2 separate regions of the Homo sapiens genome follow, and region 1 is linked to region 2. Evidence: promoter capture Hi-C in human tissues and cell types (Jung and others, 2019). All regions are on one chromosome and are shown on one strand. Each heading gives the region's core, a stretch centred on a gene start or on the middle of the fragment in contact. The rest is flanking DNA. Distances are from core to core; before and after follow the strand shown.

Region 1 (4,831 bases), core at 1,673-4,172, 58 kb after region 2:
ATTCTTAATTTCTGAACTCATCTTTTCATGGAAAGATAACAAATAATTTGCAAAAAAAAAACAAAAAACAAAAAACACTGGTCTGCAGAATATATCTGGAGTTCTACTGCTTTAAGTGACTAGAATATTTTGTACCTTCTCTCTTCTCAAACTTCCATCACTTCCTTAGCCTTCATCACTATCAGCTGATGATTTTGCTTCACCAAGACACTTGGCGGAATTACAAGAGAACTTTCATAAGCTCTCCCTGGCATTTCTACTTATCTACCAGTATCTGTGCCCACATGCACTACCTTTTCTTACATTACTTATGGAAAAACCGCCATGCTCCTAGCAAAGGCCAATCCCTTTGCCTGAATGCTAGTGTCATGCCCTTCAATGCAAGGCTGCTGCTGGGGCAGCTCTTCCTCCTCTCTATGACCCCATTCCCATCAGCATACAATCATGCTGCTGCTATTCCTCCCATATGAGAAAACCTCTCATGGCCCTCCCTCCTCCTCCAAGAAGCACACTTTTTTCTCTGTCCCTTTCCTGCAAAACTCTTTAAATTAGTTGTTTATACTAGCTGTCTCCAATTTCTCTCCATAAGTCTCTCATGGACCCACTTAAGGCAGGTTTTCACTCCCACCACTGCACTAAAACTGCTCTTTTTAAGGTCATCAGTGATATCCGGATTTCCAAACCCAATGGACATTTTTCAGTCCTCATCTTTCTTGACCTGTCAGCAACATTCGACAATTGATGACCTTCTTCCTTCAAAAACTTTCTTTTCCTGTCTTCCAGGATACCGTTCTAGCTTGCATTTCCTCCCACTTTTCTGGCCTTTTCTTTTCAGTTTCCTCTGGCTGACCTGGAAATGTTGGCGTGTCCATTCTTGGCCCTCTCCTCTTTCCTGTCTACACTTATTCCCTACATGATCTCATTTAACTTCACGACTTTACCATCTAGAGGCTGATGAATTTCAAATTCCTTTACCTCTTCGCTGACCCCCAGGCTGCCTAGTTGCCATCTCCCATTGGCTATCTGATGAGCATCTGAGTATCTCAAATTTAACATGTCCTGACATAGCTCCATGTATTCCTTCTACTTCAAACCACCTTTTCAGTTCTATTTTAGTCAGTAGTAACTCCATCCTTCTAAAGCCTAAAACCTGGGCATCATGATTCACATCACTTTTTTTCTCATACCCCACATCCAATGCCTTAGCAACTTTTATTAGCTAATCTCAGTTTACAAGATACCTAAAGGATGAAGAGTTTTTGCATAAAGATAAAAAAGTAATGCATTTAAAAACAGAAATATTAAGACAATGCCAATATTGCCTCTGGGCCCACTGAATATGGGAGATGCAAAATGAATAGCCTCCACTCCAGAGGGCTGCAGTAGCTTGCTGGGGGTGTAGAATGTTCTTAAGTTCTCCATAGGCAAGAGGTGAGGCAGATCTTGTGAAGAGACAGAGGATGAGAAGATTTTGCTAATAGTGAAATTATTGCTCCATAGGATGCAAAGGAGGATGCTGGGGAGATAACAGTGGAAGATACACCACCACCACCACCATCATCATCCTGCCATCTAATATCCCATTAGAAGGATAGTAAGTACATACACACACAGATACTAACAGCTTGAATACATTATATATATGGCAATGTTAATAATTTAGTGCCAAGGCAAGGTAATCAATAATTCCTGAATCATAGCTAACTTATAAGAATTGAAGAGAAAGGACAAATATTATATGATTCCACTTATACGACATACCTAAGAATAGTCACATTCATAAAGACAGAAATTAGAATGGTAGTTACCAGGGGCTGGGACAAGGGAGGAATGGGGAATCAGTGTTTAATGGGCCCCGGGTTTCAGTTTGGGATGATGAAAAAGAGATGGATGGTGGTGATGGTAACACAACAATGTGAATGTGTTTAATGACACTGAACACTTAAAAATGATTAAAATGACAAATTTTATGTTATGTGTATTTTACATTAAAAAAGAATTGAAGCAGTGTGCATTTTAACATTTGGCTAATCCAAGGGAGTTCAGAGAGTGGCAACTGCACACTGTAACAGAGGTCTGACATATGAAAAGTGTTCTACACCCATTGTTGTATTTCATCCTCACCACGGTCTAATTAGGAAGGTATCGCCACTCCACCAGAGGAGAAGGAAAACTGAGAGTCAAAGAGATTTTTTCCAAAGATTTACAGCTAGTAAGTGATGGAGCTGGGAGTTACATCTGGGAACATGTGTTGTCTCCAGAGCTATGTGCTTTCTATGTGCTAACGACACCACACTGAAATAGGGGAGATAAAAACTGTGCTTTAGAAATGTTCTGAAATCCATGGTGTAAGCCTGCAGCACTGTAGTGGACCACTGGCAACCACCAGCAACAGATGGCCGAGGCAGGTCTTTTTAAACAAAAGCCACACTGTGCTCCAGTGGAGGAGCTAGTGGTGCAAACAGGAGCAAGCACCGTCAGAAGTGGCTGAGGCTGTGAATGAAAGCACAGTGCTCAGGGCGAACACTGTGGAAGGACTCATCATTTCACAGTGGGCTCATTAGCATTTCCTCACACACAGGCAGTGACCACCATTGTGGGGTATCACCCTTGGATAAAGCACAGCTGAAATATCAGATGCTCAGAGGTAAATTTAAAATTTTATATCTGTACTTTAGAAATATGAGTGCTTCATAAATATGAGGCATTAAAATGATTTAGCATCTACAAAGCAGTCTGGGAAGAGGAACGGTTTTATCAGACTGGTCTCATAAAGCTTGCTGACTGCCAAAACAATAGTGCCAAAAAGGAATTCGGTTCAGACAACTCGGGGAAGCTTATTATACCGCCAACTTGAACTTTTCTTCTTTTCCCACTAAAACATGTTTTGGAAAATATATGTATGTATCCTATTGTATAGGGAACTTCAAAAGGCTCAAGTGGACCACTGCAGAAACCTCAGAATACTGTCTTGAGAATACTTCAAAGATTTCCAAAACACATCAGTATAAAACATCTTCACTGTAAATTCAAGATGCCAATTGGGTTGCCAGTAAAGGCAAAGTTTAATATTCCCAGATGTTACTATACAGTATCTATGATATGTTGGCTGAATAGGGTATGCACATTTGCACATCATGGTATTTTTTCAAAATGTAAATTTAGTCCCTGGAGATATAACAATAGCAAGGCTGAATAAATTGTCTAAAAATTAAAATTCATATTTTTTTGTTAGTTTAAAAGATGGGGGAAAGCAGAGAGCAATAAAGCTAATTCATATACTAAATGTCATTTAAAAAATTGAGATAGTACCCCCAAAATCTTAAAAGCATGAATAGATCTGAAATAAATAGCTTTTTATTTTGGCAGTGATTATTCCCATTACCAGAACTTCGTGAGCATGCAATGAAAGCTAAGTATGCTCAATTACTTAATAAACTCTCTTTTTGAGAGGGTATCATAGCATACTCCATGTAAAAAGCATCTTCTATATTAAGACAGTTGAATTCTTTCTAGAATGTTCAAAACAAAATGAAGCATGATAATTTTACAACATCAAAGAAGACATACCTACATTAAAGAACTATTTTGGAGGATTTAGTAGTTCACAGCATCTTTGTCCTTGTTGGAGGTCATAGCAAGGATAGAATTGTGGAAGCAATTTGATTATGGAAGCTTTCTTTTACTTCACTTTATTTGTAGTTAAGCCTCAGTGGTGATAACCATAAAAAGTATTTTTAAGTACAAAGTTATTTTGGTTAACCCAAAGAACAATGTTTATCCAGTCGCTGTCTAGTTTAATTATTAAAAGGATTTTGAACTCAAAATATCATTATTGAAAGCAGAAAGGAAAAGTTGTCAAGTATGTATGTCTTTTATACAGGTAATATGGCTGAAGTATCAGTCTCCAAATACTTTGGTGTTGTGTAAGGATCTTCAAGGTAGAGGTCAGTAAACTAGGTTTCTAGACTCTATCACTAACCAGTCACGTGACCTAGGAAAAATAATTGCAGCTCTTTGCAACTATGTTTCTTCATTTTCAAAATAACATTGGATTAGACTAGTTTTTCTGACCAGCTTCATCACTGGAGGCCCTCGTTTCAGCAGCCGTCTTGGGACTCCTGATTGGGAACCTTTGATTAGCCTATGTGGTCAATTTGAGGTCAAACATACAATGTCTATCAGGTGTTAAGCTCAGATCATTGAAGTCCCAAGGTTTCCTTCCAACACTAACAGTCTATGATCTTGGGACTTATTTGGTGCCTATCCTTCAATCATCATCGACAATAATGAGTTATGGAATACCTATTATTTTACCACATTGTGCTAGTCAAGAGGATACTAAAAGGTTTAAAAGATTCCTGCTAGATCTGGTTGGGAAGATGGGTTAGATAGATAAAATTAAGGAAACAGAGTATTGTATACTGGGTGGGAATGACAACCTAGGCCCAGGGCATTTGGGAAGACCTTCAAAGAGGGGACTTTAGAGAGGTTAAGGTAGAATGTGGCAATGTGGTGATAAGGTCTTAACAGACAAGATAAATGGAGTCACCAGAAACATGAGAGCTGGAATATTCAATGCCTGGCTTAGAATAAAGAGTAAGGTAGTTTGGCTGGAAAGAATTGTGTTATTATTTAATGAGTCTTTAATCCCAAATTGTATACAGCAGCTTAGCTGTTATTTTAGCAAATGTGGTAGCTATTATTGCTATATTTAGCCAACCTGTGGTACATCAGAGTATCCAACTGTTTACAATTACTTTTATTAACCCTAGGGAAATTATTGATGTGTCTCAGAATGTAACACTGACACAGTGGAACAATCGACGAA
Region 2 (4,701 bases), core at 578-3,077:
AAAATTAAATAAATAAATAAATAAAAATTATTTAGGACCTTATCTGACTGGCTATAGCACAACTGAAATAGCAAAATCAAGATTGAAGGGCTATTTTCAGCACAGGTATTCCATTTCCAATCAAACTCAAGAACTCCAGCAGTGCAGGAACCACAGACCTCTTTAACTTTGTGCTGATTCCTAGGCATCCACCCTCTACTGGCTCCCCTCAACCTGGGGACATCCCTCCCCCATCCTGCAGCAACTTCGGGTCCATCAGTAGTCCACATTTTGGTAGGGCTTTGTTTATTCACAAGTCCACAACCCTGGAAGGAACTGGCTCCCTGGGCTGTGATGGCGCCTATTCTAAAGACTTCCTCAGAGTGGAAATTTAGGCAACAACAGCTCAATCGCTCTTTTATGACAAGTCAATCAGTAAAACAATGATAAAACCTCGGTTACCATAACTTAGAGGCTGTAATAGATTAACTTTTCAAGGGCACTTGATATAAGCTCTGAGTAGACTCTTTAGAGTCTTTATTCACACAGGGTTTTAGGAAACCACCCTCTTTCATAACTACTGTGTGTAAATAACCTCTATTTATCTAATTTGTAATTTTCCTACAGTCCCCTCAAAAGGGAACATTAAAAGAAATACTAAAGGAAGTTGGAAAGTTTGTCAATGTAAAGCTGGTCTTTGTAACCTTTCTACTCTTCATTTCCTGTGGCAATTGCACTTTTATTTCCCGTCTCTCTACACTCAGTAAACAAAACCATATTATCAAGGGAAAGACGTGAGCCCATTAACATTGTGAGCCCTCAGATTTCACTCACAAGAGACGATGCAGCACTTATCTGATGGAGCAGAAGCTCTAATTGCTTCGAGGTACAAGTCCATCTAAACCTCTGAGATCTCACCCGTCCCCGGTAAGCCCTTGCGCCCTCCAGACAAGCTCCTCAGTGAAAGCAAGCGCCGCACCGGTGCCTGTGCCAGTCTCCCAGAAAGGAGCATAAGGAGTGTTCCACCACCACTCTGGATTCTTTATTCCAACAACCCAGCCGGAGGGGAAAATCTGCTAAACCACCCCACAAGGCAGAAACTTTATCAAAATCTGGCACTACAACACTGGCCCTCATCACGCCGCCACAAATTGCGAGGGATAGAAGAAAGCTGCAAAGTCACGTTAAAAGGAAGCCTAGTCAAAAAGTGAAAATTTTGTCCCGCCCTAGGCACACAGCACTCACAGCATAAGATGTAGTTCCATGAGTCCTAGGAAAGGGGGAAGAAAGGAAAAAACCAAACATCTGCTCTAGGTTTAGAAGAGGGATAACATCAGCGCCAAGCAAACCGAAAGCGCAGAGGACTCAGAAGAGGGGAAGAGGAATAACTTTATCTGTCCTGGAGGTGGGCGAAGAGCAGTCTCCACCGGCCGCGCGTCACGCTCCCATTTAACCTTTTCCATGCCGCGACGCCCACACTCCGCCCTCGAGGGACTAGCCCCCCCCACGATCCAGAGCAGAAGCGGCTCGCCCCGCTGCATCCACGGGCCCTCACCCAAGCGTCCAGTCCTGCCTTTCTCCCCCCACCTCGCCCAATACCTGTCCGAGAGCAGGCGTTCTGCCCTCTCGCCCCGCCCTTGCCCAGGCAGCCCCCGGTCGCGACGGCTCTCCTCGGGGCTCGGGGGCGCTGGGCGGCGGCCCTGGGCTGCTTTGGCTAACTTGGCTGCGGGGCAGGCGCGAGGAGCGGCGCGCCGACCGGGCCGAGCGGAGAGGCCGCCCATTGGCCGGCCAGCGCCACGTGGCCGCCCCCGCCGGTATATTAGGCCACTATTTACCTCCGGCTCACTCGCCATGGGTTGGAGAGGGCAGCTCGGGTAGAGAGGGCTGGCGGAGCGGCGCAGACGGCGGCAGTCCTGCTCAGCCTCTGCCCGGCTCCGTACTCCGGCCCCGGCCTGCGCCCTCAGAAAGGTGGGGCCCGAACCATGAGCTCCTACCTGGAGTACGTGTCATGCAGCAGCAGCGGCGGGGTCGGCGGCGACGTGCTCAGCTTGGCACCCAAGTTCTGCCGCTCCGACGCCCGGCCCGTGGCTCTGCAGCCCGCCTTCCCTCTGGGCAACGGCGACGGCGCCTTCGTCAGCTGTCTGCCCCTGGCCGCCGCCCGACCCTCGCCTTCGCCCCCGGCCGCCCCCGCGCGGCCGTCCGTACCGCCTCCGGCCGCGCCCCAGTACGCGCAGTGCACCCTGGAGGGGGCCTACGAACCTGGTGCCGCACCTGCCGCGGCAGCTGGGGGCGCGGACTACGGCTTCCTGGGGTCCGGGCCGGCGTACGACTTCCCGGGCGTGCTGGGGCGGGCGGCCGACGACGGCGGGTCTCACGTCCACTACGCCACCTCGGCCGTCTTCTCGGGCGGCGGCTCTTTCCTCCTCAGCGGCCAGGTGGATTACGCGGCCTTCGGCGAACCCGGCCCTTTTCCGGCTTGTCTCAAAGCGTCAGCCGACGGCCACCCTGGTGCTTTCCAGACCGCATCCCCGGCCCCAGGCACCTACCCCAAGTCCGTCTCTCCCGCCTCCGGCCTCCCTGCCGCCTTCAGCACGTTCGAGTGGATGAAAGTGAAGAGGAATGCCTCTAAGAAAGGTAAGTCCGCGGGCCTTGGATGGGGCCACCTGGGGTTGGGGACGGAGCCTCCCCCGCGGAAATGCGCTGGGAGCGTGGTGTCGCTGCCTTTCCAGACAGCGGTTTGGGTTTTGTGGAGGAGACGCGTTCCCGGGCGAATTCCATGGAGTCTGCCTCGAGTACAGATTCGGAAAATGTGCCAGGCATTGAGAAAATTTCAGGAAGGAGCTCTCCGTGGAACTTCTCCTGGTACAAATTCTGTTCCTAGGGACCCAGGAGGGCTGCGCTGGGACTTTGATTCTAACTAGCTCCACTGCTCACCCACATTCTGTCCCCGGCCTCAGGCCTGGCTGACGCCCTGTCTTTACGTTGCAGGCAAACTCGCCGAGTATGGGGCCGCTAGCCCCTCCAGCGCGATCCGCACGAATTTCAGCACCAAGCAACTGACAGAACTGGAAAAAGAGTTTCATTTCAATAAGTACTTAACTCGAGCCCGGCGCATCGAGATAGCCAACTGCTTGCACCTGAATGACACGCAAGTCAAAATCTGGTTCCAGAACCGCAGGATGAAACAGAAGAAAAGGGAACGAGAAGGGCTTCTGGCCACGGCCATTCCTGTGGCTCCCCTCCAACTTCCCCTCTCTGGAACAACCCCCACTAAGTTTATCAAGAACCCCGGCAGCCCTTCTCAGTCCCAAGAGCCTTCGTGAGGCCGGTACTTGGGGCCGAAAAACTGTGGCCTGCAGAAGTCCCAGGCGACCCCCATCCCTATCTAGACTTAGGAGCTCAGTTTGGGATGGAGGTGGGAGAACAAAAATGAATAGGGATTTCACTTGGGAAATGAAGTACTTTAGTTGGCTTCCGAGTTCCAGACTATATGTCCAGATATTAATTGACTGTCTTGTAAGCCACTTGTTTGGTTATGATTTGTGTCTTATCAGGGAAAAGGTGCCCAGCTGCCAGCCCAGCTCCGCTGCTATCTTTGCCTCACTTAGTCATGTGCAATTCGCGTTGCAGAGTGGCAGACCATTAGTTGCTGAGTTCTGTCAGCACTCTGATGTGCTCAGAAGAGCACCTGCCCAAAGTTTTTCTGGTTTTAATTTAAAGGACAAGGCTACATATATTCAGCTTTTTGAGATGACCAAAGCTAGTTAGGGTCTCCTTGATGTAGCTAAGCTGCTTCAGTGATCTTCACATTTGCACTCCAGTTTTTTTTTCTTTAAAAAAGCGGTTTCTACCTCTCTATGTGCCTGAGTGATGATACAATCGCTGTTTAGTTACTAGATGAACAAATCCACAGAATGGGTAAAGAGTAGAATCTGAACTATATCTTGACAAATATTATTCAAACTTGAATGTAAATATATACAGTATGTATATTTTTTAAAAAGATTTGCTTGCAATGACCTTATAAGTGACATTTAATGTCATAGCATGTAAAGGGTTTTTTTTGTAATAAAAATTATAGAATCTGCTGCTCTCTGCTTTTCTTACACTCTTTAATAATGATTCTCTTTCTTTAAAGTTGATTCAGTTTCCTGTATTTGAATTTTCTTGATTCTGCTATGAGAATTTGTTTATGTTGATAACTTTTTTTTTTTTTTGACACGGAGTCTTGCTCTGTTGCCCAGGCTGGAGTGCAGTGGCACAATTCTGGCTCACCACAACCTCTGCCTCCCAGGTTCAAGTGATTCTCCTGCCTCACCATCCCCAGTAGCTGGGATTACAGGCATGAGCCACCATGCCCAGCTAATTTTTTGTATTTTTTTTAGTAGAGACGGGGTTTCACCATGTTGGCCAGGTTGGACTCGAACTCCTGACCTCAGGTGATCCGCCCACCTCGGCCTCACAAAGTGCTAGAATTACAAACGTGAGCCACCACGCCCAGCCGATAACTTTTAAAAATAATACTTCCTACAGGTTGTGTACACACCCAGCAAGTTATGGGCAATTAGTAGTTTAAGAGAGAAAACTACTCTGCCAAATATCCAAGTAACTATGGAAATACTTTCCTTACCTTGAGTGCCCTAATTTTATGGTAGGTGTGTAGTCTGCACATTTAACTCAAGTGTTAGGTGCCTACTGTGGAATGTTGTAAAGCCAAGGAGA

What was found. Contacts are between HindIII fragments. The study calls those that stand out against the background at their distance.
Region 1: a fragment that was not itself captured here is called in contact with the fragment with the promoter of HOXD1 in region 2 in 1 of the 25 tissues and cell types used here (hippocampus).

What each region holds. Positions count from the first base shown.
Region 1 is chr2:176,244,073-176,248,903 of GRCh38, forward strand. No RefSeq gene overlaps it. Among named protein-coding and RNA genes, the nearest start is that of MTX2, 23 kb to the right of the region's middle. The HindIII fragment of the contact is 3,213 bases long and covers 1,317-4,529 here.
Region 2 is chr2:176,186,841-176,191,541 of GRCh38, forward strand. It overlaps HOXD1 (homeobox D1), which reads left to right and starts at 1,828. Exons shown (of 2, transcript NM_024501.3): 1 at 1,828-2,613; 2 at 2,968-4,067. The coding sequence starts at 1,962. The coding sequence ends at 3,302. It overlaps HAGLR (HOXD antisense growth-associated long non-coding RNA), which reads right to left and starts at 2,118. Exons shown (of 3, transcript NR_033979.2): 1 at 1,974-2,118. It overlaps MIR7704 (microRNA 7704), which reads left to right and starts at 2,003; the gene lies at 2,003-2,061. The HindIII fragment of the contact is 12,505 bases long and covers 1-4,701 here.